2 separate regions of the Homo sapiens genome follow, and region 1 is linked to region 2. The links are contacts of gene promoters, found by promoter capture Hi-C in human tissues and cell types (Jung and others, 2019). All regions are on one chromosome and are shown on one strand. Each heading gives the region's core, a stretch centred on a gene start or on the middle of the fragment in contact. The rest is flanking DNA. Distances are from core to core; before and after follow the strand shown. Region 1 overlaps MTMR6 (myotubularin related protein 6). Region 2 holds the start of PABPC3 (poly(A) binding protein cytoplasmic 3).

Region 1 (6,078 bases), core at 2,848-5,347, 180 kb before region 2:
ATGAGCTAGTGTTTAGCTATCTAGATGATTTTGAAGATATAAACGATTTAAAAAACTGTCTGCAACCTGCTGGTACACATAAATTAACTTTTGTTTGTTTGTTTGTTTGTCTTTTTGAGATGGAGTCTCACTCTGTTGCCCAGGCTGGAGTGCAGTGGCACAATCTTGGCTCACTGCAACCTCCACCGTCTGGGTTCAAGCAATTCTCCTGCCTCAGCCTCCCAAGTAGCTGGGATTACAGACGTGTGCCACCATGTCCAGCTGATTTTTATATTTTTAGTAGAGGTCTCATCATGTTGGCCAGGCTGGTCTTGAACTCCTGCCCTTAGGTGATGCACCCGTGTTGGCCTCCCAAAGTGCTGGGATTACAGGCGTGAGCCACCGTGCCTGGCCCAAATTAACATTTTTTAGGTTGGTAGTGGTTATTTCACTTTTTTTCGTAAGGATGAATAACACAAAGATTCCCAGCAGTAGCCTCCTGCACATTCCTGGTTAGCCCTAGTCCCACTCTCCACGCCAGCAGCAACATAGTGTGTGTGTGTGTGTGTGTGTGTGTGTGTGTGTGTGTGTGTGTGTATGTGTGTGTGTGTGTGTGTGTCTGTCTACTAGTATTCATAAAAACATACTATGTGCCTTATCAGCTCAGGCAGTAGAGGAGGCCAAAGCAGCATAGGACATAATCTATGCCAGGGAATTCAGAGCTGCAGAGGAATGCAAAGCCAAAACATAAGTAATGAACTGATTTTCTAATAAGGATTAATGTTAGGAGGCAGGATGTTAGTGAGTCTTGAAGAATGCTTGCCACTTAGCTAAGCAGAAGAGACCATTTTAGAAACAGAGAACAGTGTGAGTAAAAGCCCAGAGGTGGACAAAAAACAATCATTGCCCTGGTGTGGGATAGTGAAGAGAATATAGAGACTAAGTTGGAGTTGGCAACCATTTAAATGTTTCCTGATTTAATTTTTCTGGTAGTTTACTCTAAAACTAGATAATAATATATTTATTTTTTGATTTTCCAACTTTAGATAAAAATGTTGACTCTTGGGTATGAAAAATGTTTTTGCTTATTTGTACTGTACCCCTGTTTCTTGCTACCCTCAATATAAGTGTTACTGTTTTTTACAATGTGGTTCTCTATTGGTTACATTTGTAACTGTAAATAATCTCTATGTTATTTGTGGCTTATACATTCCCCAAAAAGATATATGGAATTTAACAGTAAGTATTAAATAAGCTCTTATGATTTTAGGAGGAAGAAAAAATTGAGAATGTTGCATGTAAGTCCTGGGCTAACAGAAAAATAATTTATACTACTTTTGAAATGAGAAATAATATCTTTTTTTCTTTTAGGTCGAACAAGTAAAATTACTTGACCGATTCAGTACCAGCAACAAGTCATTAACAGGAACACTGTATCTTACGGCTACACATCTATTATTTATCGACTCTCATCAAAAAGAAACCTGGGTAAGGAGGACCGCAGCTGTACTATTTATCATAATAATAATGGACTTGGTCTGTCATGTTTTATTTTGAATGTGTATAACACAATTTTTAATCATTGGTTACCTATCTCAACCAAAATATTTTTTGGTCTCCAGATCACTCCTGCCCTCCCTTCTAATAAATCAGTTATAGAATATGTAACATGGAATTCTATAAAATACCACACTCTTATCTCCATAAATAATTATGAAATACCTGTTGTTCCTAGGCCGGATGCGGTGGCTCACGCCTGTAATCCCAGCACTTTGGGAGGCCGAGGTGGGTGGATCACGAGGTCAGGAGTTCAAGACCAGCCTGGCCAACATAGTGAAACCCCATCTCTACTAAAAATACAAAAAATTAGCTGGGCATGGCGATGGGTGCCTGTAATCCCAGCTACTTGGGAGGGTGAGGCAGGAGAATTGCTTGAACTTGAGAGGCGGAGGTTGCAGTGAGCCGAGATCGCGCCATTGCACTCCAGCCTGGGTGACAGTGTGAGACTCTGTCTCAAAAAAAAAAAAAAAAAATCCTATTGTTCCTTTTAATTTTTAAAAATCTAAAAAATATGTACACATTAACAGATCAAACGGATTGTTTGGTATATTCCACAGTGTTTTTATACAAATTTTAATTAGGGTACTTATTTTTTTTGCTAGTATAAATGTTGCAATGTACATATACATGTAAACAACATTTTGTGTATTTATATGAGACATATGTATATGTTTCTTTCTGTATATTTGCCAGAGTTTCTCTGGGATATTTGTCTGGGAGTAAAATTATTGGGTCTTGAATAAGTGCATATATAACCTTACTAAGTATGTCACCTCTTCAAAATGGTTGTTCCAATTTATTCTCAGTAGTGTATTACACAATGTTGTACATCCTCAACAACATTGATATTGTCAATTTAAAATTTTTTGCCTATCTAGTAGATGTCCAATTGTAATGTTAATGAGCTGATTATAAAGAATTTACCCTTTTCAGATAAAGAAAAAGGAAAGAGTTTCCTTTTCTTTTTTTATTGGGTTGTTTGTCTTTTATTGATTTTATAAAAGTTCTGGGCTACAAATAGAATTACCATTCAACCCAGCAATCCTTTTACTGGATATATACTCAAAGGAAAATAAATCAACCAAAAAGACACGGGCATTTGCATGTTTGTTGCAGCGCTGTTCACAATAGCAAAGCTATGGAATCAACCTAGGTGCCCATTAGCAGTGGATTGGATAAAGAAAAAGTGGTGCATATTCACCACAGCCATAAAAAGAGAACAAAATCATGGCCTTTACAGCAACATGGATGCAGGTGGAAGCCATTATTCTAAATGAATTAACACAAACAAAAAACCGTATACTGCGTGTTCTCACTTATAAGTGGGAGCTTAACATTGGGTACATACGAGCACAAAGATGGGAACAATAGACATTAATAGACTAATAGAGGTGGGAGGGAGGGAAGTAGAGGAACAAGGGTTGAAAAACTACCTCTTGGGTACTGTGTTCACTGTCTGGGCTATGGGTTCAGTCAAAGCTCAAACCTCAGAATCATTCAGTATATTCATATTACAAACCTGCACATGTACCCACTGAATTAAAAAAAAAAGTATTATTCAAGAAAACAAATAAAGAGTTCTAGGTTATAATGCTTTGTCAGATGTGTGTGTCATAGATAGCTTTTCCCAGTGTGTGGCTTGTCTTCTCTGTTTTTTATTTTATATGTCTTTCAGTTGAAGTTTATATTTTTAATGTTATAGATTTTTCATTTTTTTCTTTTATTGTTTGTGCTCTGTTGTGACTTAAGAAATCCTTTCCTATGTCAAAGTCATAAAGGTTCTTCTATATTTTCTTCTAAAAGCTTAAGTTTGATCCTGTAAGTTGTTAATACATCTGGGAAATATTTTGGTGTATGATGTGACTAGGGATTCATTTTTATGTTTTCGTATAGACGACCGGCGCCATTTATTGACTGTTTCATTCCATTCGTCTTTAGTACCAGCTCTGTCATAAAAACATCTTCCATGTATGTGAGGCTCTGCTTTTGAGTTTTCTTTTCTATTCGTTTGGTATACTGACTACACTGTACCACACTGTTTTATTGACTATAGCTTTTAAATAAATTTTGATATCAAGTAGAGCATACCCTCCCAACTTGTTCTTCAAAATTGCCATGGCTATTTTGGATTCTTTGTTCTTCCTTTTCTGTTTTAGAATTCATTTAGCACACATTTATTGAGCATATACAGTGTGTTTCATATCACTATTCTAGATATTTTGGAAACAATAGCCAATAATAACAGGTACAAATTCTATCCTCATGGAGCCAACATTCTAGTGCTGAAAGATATTGATAACATCACCAATAAGTAGGTAGATAAGTAAAATACATAGTGATAAGTGCTAAGCAGAAAAAGAAGTAGGAAAGGTGGTTAGAATATGGGGCTTGTGTCTCTGTGCCTGAGAGGAAGAGACTTGGGCATGTTTCTGTGCCACTAGCTCTGCCAGCTTTTAGAACCTCCACTTTATAGATGAAGAAGCTGAAGCTCAGGCAAGTGGCAATTCATTCATTGTTACACAGGCAGTGTAGAGTAGTAAAATGAGCTCACGTAGACTGTGTTGTCAGGTAGCTTTGGGTTCAAATGTCAGCTCTGCTGTTCACTGCTTGGGTGACTATGTCAGGGTGCTTTTGGCTGTAAGTAAATGAATACCTGACTGAACATGGTGCCAAACCTTGCAAAGCAGGAGAGGTGGGTAGGCTTTCCTCAGTAGCCCCATTGCTTATCAGGGAGGAGAAGCTCTCTCAGAAGGCCCCCAGCTAACTTTCCCTAACATCTGATTGTTTGAAAATCCGGACACTTGGCTACTCCTACCTGAAAAGGAGGCAGAGAATGTAGATCCTAGTATTTTTTATCTCTTGAGGGAAAAGGATGTTGCAAGTAAGGAAGGGGGGGAGGAATGGCAGACCAACAGTGTCTGCCAAAAAGTATGTAACTTTCGAGCTTAGCACCCACATAAAATGGGTATATAGCATCAGTCATCATGTAGGGCTTTTGTGAGTCTTAGATGAAAGAAAATATGAAAAACATCTGTGCGTAAAACATAGTAGTGGCGTAAATCATAGCTGCTCATACTATTTTTCTAAGCAGTTGAATCAAGATTAGAGGTCAATTATGCCTCCCAGTCCAGAGATTGATGTTGCTCTGTGGTACACCCCTGTACTGCACATACTGTCATACTGTTCTCTTCTCTTTCTCTCTTTGATTGTACTCTTCTGATTTCCCCAAGAAGGCTAACCAATTGATATATGATTCTATATCAGCTGTTAAGGAAACTCACTTGAGATACTGATCTTGGAGAAGTTGTATTCCCTAGAGGCACTGGATCCCTTCTTCATCCAGTGTTTGTCCAAGAATTGCCAGGAATTTTACCTAGCAGTACCTTCTGAAATAATTAGTCATATTATCATCCACTCCATCTACCCCTCCTTTGTCCACTTGCTTCAGTATTTTCTCTATTATCCATCTCGTAGAGATATAAATGAAGGCTTCCCGTATAGCTATTCCCTCAGCTGCTGGGAATGTAGTTTGAGGGGCAACAAAAAGATATCTGTGTTATTCTCTACTCTCCTATTGTTGTCTTTTAAATGCTTTCTTATCAGTATATTCCCTTATGTTTGCCCTAAATGAAGTTTGTTTAATATACTAGAGCCATAGAAATGAACATTTTAGATCCAGAAGGGGCCGTATCAACCTTATATCCTTTTTCTCACTTTACAGTTGATTATGTTTTCAAAATCACATAACTAGTTAGTGGTAGGACCAGGTTTCTTCATCATTTTCTTCCTGCAAATACTTTTGGGTTTTTATAATTAAAATCAGAACAGTGATGTACAGGTTGAATATCCCCAATCCAAAAATTCAGCACTGACATGATGTTCAAAGGAAATGCTCATTGGAGCATTTCAGATTTCAGATTTTCAGATTAGGGATGTCAATTGATAAGTATAATGCAAATATACCAAAATCTTTAAAAATCCAAAATTTGAAATACTTCTAGTCCCAAACATTTTGGATAAAGGGTTCTCAACTTGTAATATTACAGTTAGCTTTTATTCCTTATTCTCTGTTTAAATGTTATTATTAGATCATTTTTAGTAACTTGTCACAGGCGCATTAATATAAGTGATAATGGTGCTAAATCTTAGCCGTAAGGACTATATATGTGTGTGTGTGTGTTAATTATTTGTTCTCTATGTAGTTTTAATTTCCATTGACAACTGCTTCTCTCATTGTTTTTCAAGCTTTTCTTGATTATTTAAATGCATTTAATTTTGCAGGTGAACTTTAGATTTAAGATGTATAATTAATATTAACATATAATGTAATAATTACATAATATATGTGTATTATATAAATAATCATCCCTCACTACAAAACAAAGCAGATTGGAATTTTTAAACTGAAATTTATGTTGAATTTTTAGATTAATTTGGGATAAATGGATCTCTTGCATGATTAGGAGCCTATGATCTTTTATTCTCCAGAAAAGTTTTCTATAAATATTTTAATAGGAGTGTTATTAAGAAAAAGTAGGC
Region 2 (5,744 bases), core at 1,737-4,236:
AACATTAATTATAAATATTTATATTAATTAATATTACCAATAAAGGAGCTACAAGTAGTGATAAATTATATTGGGAGGAGGAGGAGGGATGGTGGGAAGAGGTAGATGAAACATATCCTTATTTGTTACAGCAGGAAGTCAATAGTTAAATTACAAAATTGATAAACCAAGAAATAACTATGTACAATTATTATTGAAGAAAATCAACTACCAGAAACACTAAAACCAAATGATTAAAAGTGATTATCTCTGTGATCAGAACCATGTTTAGCCTCCTGTTCAATTAGATTTTTAAAACTATGTATTTATTTTTTATTTAAAAATAATGCAGTATAAATTAATAATTGTCTTACAATTTTGAACAAATGTTACTGAATTTATAATTACTATTTTGTCATTGCATATTTTCATTTATGAATATTAAAAATAAACACTATTATGTAAAGACCTAAAATTTTGGTGAAAAAGTGATTTTCATATTTGAAATATAGTGGGAGATAGAATAATAGAAAATGTAAAGAAAGACTATTAGTAAAATTGATGATTTTTCTTTTTTTCACTGTTTAAGAAATTTTTATTAAAGCAAGAATTTTATAATCCAAACCATGTTTCCTTGCTCAGTTATCAATTCTGTTACTTAAAACAGAATGGACATTTTGAGCTATTCCACAGTAAAGAATTAAAAAATTAAAGGAATGCTTTAAATTTTTGTACTTTGCTGAAAATTCTTTTCCCAGGGTCTACAAAACATTAACTGGTTTTTGTATTTTACGATTTTTTGTTTTTAAATCAAAATTAAGTAATCTTTTTTTTGTTTTTAAATCAATAAGTAATCTAGGACTAGCATTATATTTGCTAGACCTTGCATTTGCTCGGTACATAAGGTTCAAAGTTTCCTTTCCATTTTTTATTTTAGATTTTGCATTTTTTATTTTAGATTTTGCAATTTTTTTTCCCATAGTTTCTCGATGTTTAGATATTTTTCTTCGGTGAAGCACAAATTTCTTTTCGTGGTCTCTGATCAATTTTAAACAGTTGGAACACCGGTAGCACTGTTAACTGCTTTCTGGGTAGCCTCTTTAGCTTGGTGGGCTTGTAGTACAGCTACAGCTTCATCAACCTTAGAACGGAGTGACTCTGGAGACTCGAGCATATAAAGAAGTTCTGAATTATCAATCTCCAACAACATGCCAGTGATTTTCCCAGCAAGAGTAGGGTGCATGGCTTGAATAAGAGGAAAGAGCCGTTCACCTAACATTTGCTTTTGCTTTTGAGGAGGGGCAGATGCCAACCTGGAGGCAGTCAAAGTTTCCTGACCTTGTACATGAACAGCAAGCTGTTGCATTGTAACTTGTGGCTGTGCATTACGATGTTGCTGAGGATTGCGAACTCCCGCAGCATATTTATACCGTGGAACCGTGCGCACAGCAGGGGTAGCTGCAGCAGCAGCAGCAGCTGCAGGACGTGGACCCACTGTCTGTGTTGATGTGTTAGCAACACGCTGCGTTGACATGACTCGTGGAACCTGTGAAGAAGCTGGTCTCATAGTACTAAATGGTACTCTAGGAGCACCTGGGCGGATAGCACTGGGCTTATTTTGGAATGGATGAGGTCTGGCACCCTGAGCAGTCCAGCGAGGACTTGGTCTTAGTCGAGCAATTTGGCTAGGAGGATAGTATGCAGCATGGTTCTGAGTCTGTGGGACAGCTGTCATGAAGTAACCTGAAGGAGGTGCTCGCTGGTTGGGCACAGCTCGTACACTTGCCATTCTCTGCATATACTCGTTAGTGAGGTAAGCCTGGCGCTCTTCTTTGCGCTGAGCTAAAGCTACATACAATGGCTTTGTGGCCACAATTCTACCGTTCATTTCTGTAACTGCTTTAGTGGCTTCTTCTGGGGAGGAGAAACATACAAAACCAAACCCTTTGCTGCGACCACCTTCCATCATAACCTTTGCACTAGTGATTGTACCAAATGGAGAAAACGCTTTCCGGAGACGTTCATCATCAATACCATCATCAAGATTTTTCACATAAAGATTAACAACCTGGTATCTGGTGATCCTATCTTGCTTCATCTGTTCAAATGTGCGCTTAAGTTCCGTCTGCCGTTCCACTTTTTTCTGAGCTCGACCAACGTAAATTTGTTTTCCATTGAGCTCCTTTCCATTCATCTCATCTACAGCTTTCTGTGCATCTTCATGCCTTTCAAAGCTTACAAATCCAAATCCTTTGGATTTTCCACTTTCATCGGTCATTACTTTCACACTTAAGGCGGGCCCGAACTTGCCAAAGAGATCCTTAAGGCGCTCATCATCCATGTCTTCTCCAAAATTCTTGATGTAAACATTGGGGAACTCTTTTGCCCTAGCTCCAAGTTCAGCTTCTCGTTCTTTACGAGACTTAAATTGTCCAACAAATACTTTGCGACCATTTAGGAGCATTCCGTTCATTTTTTTAATAGCTCTTTCAGCTGCTTCGTGTGTCTCAAAGTGTACAAATCCATAACCCTTGGAACCATTTTCATCACAAACCACGTTACACGAAAGGATGTTACCAAAAGCAGAAACTGTATCATACAGTGCTTTATTATTAATGGACTTATCCAGATTTTTAACGAATATGTTGCCCACTCCACTTTTTCGAAGTGATGGATCACGCTGAGACCACATGATGCGTACTGGCTTGCCCTTTATAACATCAAAATTCATGGTGTCCAGAGCATGCTCCGCGTCCTTCGTATGCTGGAAGTTCACATACGCGTAGTTGGAGGAGCCGCTGGTGATCAAGTCCCTGCAGATCCGGATGGAGAGGATGGGCCCTGCCGGGCTGAACTTCTCGTAGAGCATCGCCTCAGTCACGTCGGGGTGGAGGTCCCCCACGTAGAGCGAGGCCGTTGGGTAGCTGGGGGTGCTGGGGTTCATTCTCGGCACGGCTGCCCGCAGGCACACAAGCCGCGACCTTTCCGTTACAGGAGTAGAGCGCGTGCCGGGGCCGGGGGCGTAGCCGGAGGGAGGGGAGCGGGGGCAAGCGCAGAGGGACAAAAATCAGCCGAAATCGAAAACTACTCAACGGCCGCAGAACGGGGTCGATCCGCTGCCGCTGGCTGCCGGCTGCCGGCGGGGAGCCAGGGTAGCGGTGTCGGGTCCGGGCAGCAGGAAGGCCTTGGTCTCTTAGTTCCTTCTTGGAGCTGCTGCGGGGCCGCTGGCGGGCGGCTCGGGCTCAGCTGCTTCACCGGGTTATTTTGTAAAAGAGCATTAATGATTTTTCTAAAATGATTTTTATAATCCAAATTTAAAATGCCTGGGAAAAAAATAAATGAAAGAATTTTTTTCTCCTTTCTCCTTTAGTATGTTTTTATATATGTTCTACTTTACACAAATATATTTTTATAAAATATTTTCTACTTTTTACCTCGTCTCTACTAAAATTACAAAAAATTAGCTGGGCTTGATGTGCTCACCTGTAATCCCAGCTACTCGGGAGGCCTAGGCACGAGAATCGCTTGAACCCGGGAGGTGGAGGTTGCAGTGAGCAGAGATCGCGCCACTGCCCTCTAGTCTGGGTGACAGAGCGAGACTATCTCAAACAAACAAACAAACAAACAAAAAACCCCGAAAAACCGACTTTTTATATTATATAACAATATAAAACATAATAAATATGTAATTTTATTTTTCATTTATTTATTTTTATTTTACTTATTTATTTTTGAGACGGAGTTTTGCTCTGTCACCCAGGCTGGAGTGCAGTGGTGCGATCTCGGCTCACTGCAACCTCCACCTCCCAGGTTCAAGCGATTCTCCTGCCTCAGCTTCTAAAGTAGCTGGGATTACAGGCACCCACCACCAAGCCTGGCTAATTTTTTGTATTTTTAGTAGAGACGGGGTTTCACCATCTTGGCCAGGCTGATCTTGAACTCCTGACCTCGTGATCCACCCACCTCGGCCTCCCAAAGTGCTGGGATTACAGGCGTAAGCCACCGTGCCCGACCAATAAATATGTAATGTTAATATAGTATTATATGATATAGTCTTTTGAGGTCAGGTTGGGATTCATTATTAAGTATACGTTTTATGATTATAAGTACACAATCTTGTGACCTAATATAGCTACACATCTAAGTAAGTGATGATCTGAAATAATTCTATTTAAGAAAATCCTTTAAGAAAGGTCCAGTCCCACAAAAAATATCAGTTTGGGGGAGGATCTGTTCATTCTGTTCATGTTACAAATAATTTATTTTAGGGTTTTTTGTTTGTTTGTTTGTTTAGATAGAGTCTCGTTCTGTCACCCAGGCTGTAGTGCAGTGGTGCGATCTTGGTTCACCGCAACCTCCACCTCCCGGGTTCAAGGGATTCTAGCGCCTCAGCCTCCCGAATAGCTGGGATTACAGGCAGGCACTACCACGCCTGGCTAATTTTTGTATTGTTTTTAGTAGAAACGGGGTTTCGCCTTGTTGGCTAGGCTGGTCTAGAATTCCTGACCTCAGGTGATCCGCCCACCTACGCCTGCCAAAGCTCTGGGATTACAGGCGTGAGCCGCCGCGCCTAGCCTAGAGTAGAGGGTTTCTTTAAATAGTGGTTGCCACTAATATAAAATTCAATTAAAAGTTTAAAAATGAAGTTGATACACAGCTTTTTAGGAGCACGTCCATCATTTCAACAATGTGGTCTTGTAAAAACCAAGTGCTAGGAAGGGTGTGGTTACTCAACAATATGAGATCGATTTTCTGCCTCATTAACAAAAGCAAAATGCTCTTCCAGAGAAAGGCATCTTCGCAGAACCATTTCGGTGTGTTCATGGGCAGGAAAGCAGATTCCCCACAGATACAGCCCACGGAATATACACTTGGGTGGAAGAAAACCGGGATGAATGTATCAAAATTCCAGGCTTCTTGGAGACCTATGATTTAATTTGTAACTTCATTTTCAGATTTCCCAGAAGTTTTGAGGATTGCAATCCCAAGCCCAGTGATGGTAGAGCATTTAAAACAAGCCTAGACCATACAGGAGAAGGTTATTTCCACTGGACAACTAATCTGCCGATTGTATTATGGTTTAGAGAAAATCCTGATGCAGTTAGCAAACAAATTGATTTGTGTGGAAAAATTTTGTCTGGAAGGAAAAGGAACTGAATAGATAGAAGGGATTTATTTATTATTATTATTATTTTTATTTTGAAGACAGGGCCTCACTCTGTTGCCCAGGCTGGAGTGCAGTGGCCGCAGCTCACTGCAGCCTTCACCTCCCAGGCTTAAGAGATCCTCCCACCTCAGCCTCCCAAGTAGCTGGGACTAGAGGCACATGCCACCACACCCAGCTAATTTTTGTATTTTTGGTAGAGATGGGGTTTTGCCATATTGCCCAGGCTGGTCTGGAACTCCTGAGCTCTCCAACTCCTGAGCTTAAGCAATCCACCCACCTCGGCTTCCCAAAGTGCTGGGATTGCAGGCGTGAGCCACCACACCTGGCCAGAGAAATTTCTTCTTTCCCAGATTCTTCTAAGTTTATATCGGCATATTATATGGTTTAATCACAGCTCTCAGTCACCATGGTTTCCAGAGTAACAGGGAATGGAAATCCCCATGTCTAATTCCTACACTTTCCCTCTTCCCTTTTGTGGAGCTTCCTTTTCATTTCATGATTTTTAGCAATTATAAGTTTGACTGCTTCTCTTCTGGAGAGTTGGTAATCTGTAGAAAACATCTAGTCTTTGGTTTGTCGTCAGATAATACTGAAGGTA

Evidence for each region. Contacts are between HindIII fragments. The study calls those that stand out against the background at their distance.
Region 1: a contact is called between a fragment that was not itself captured here and the fragment with the promoter of PABPC3 in region 2, in 1 of the 25 tissues and cell types used here (dorsolateral prefrontal cortex).

The regions. Positions count from the first base shown.
Region 1 is chr13:25,269,460-25,275,537 of GRCh38, reverse strand. It overlaps MTMR6 (myotubularin related protein 6), which reads left to right. Exons shown (of 14, transcript NM_004685.5): 2 at 1,351-1,467. Among named protein-coding and RNA genes, the nearest start is that of MTMR6, 15 kb to the left of the region's middle. The HindIII fragment of the contact is 5,889 bases long and covers 1,153-6,078 here.
Region 2 is chr13:25,093,378-25,099,121 of GRCh38, reverse strand. PABPC3 (poly(A) binding protein cytoplasmic 3) reads right to left here and starts at 2,986. Exons shown (of 1, transcript NM_030979.3): 1 at 1-2,986. The coding sequence starts at 2,923. The coding sequence ends at 1,028. It overlaps LOC124900613 (a long non-coding RNA gene), which reads right to left and starts at 3,502. Exons shown (of 3, transcript XR_941762.3): 1 at 3,463-3,502. RefSeq lists a silencer at 2,777-3,071. The HindIII fragment of the contact is 11,758 bases long and covers 470-5,744 here.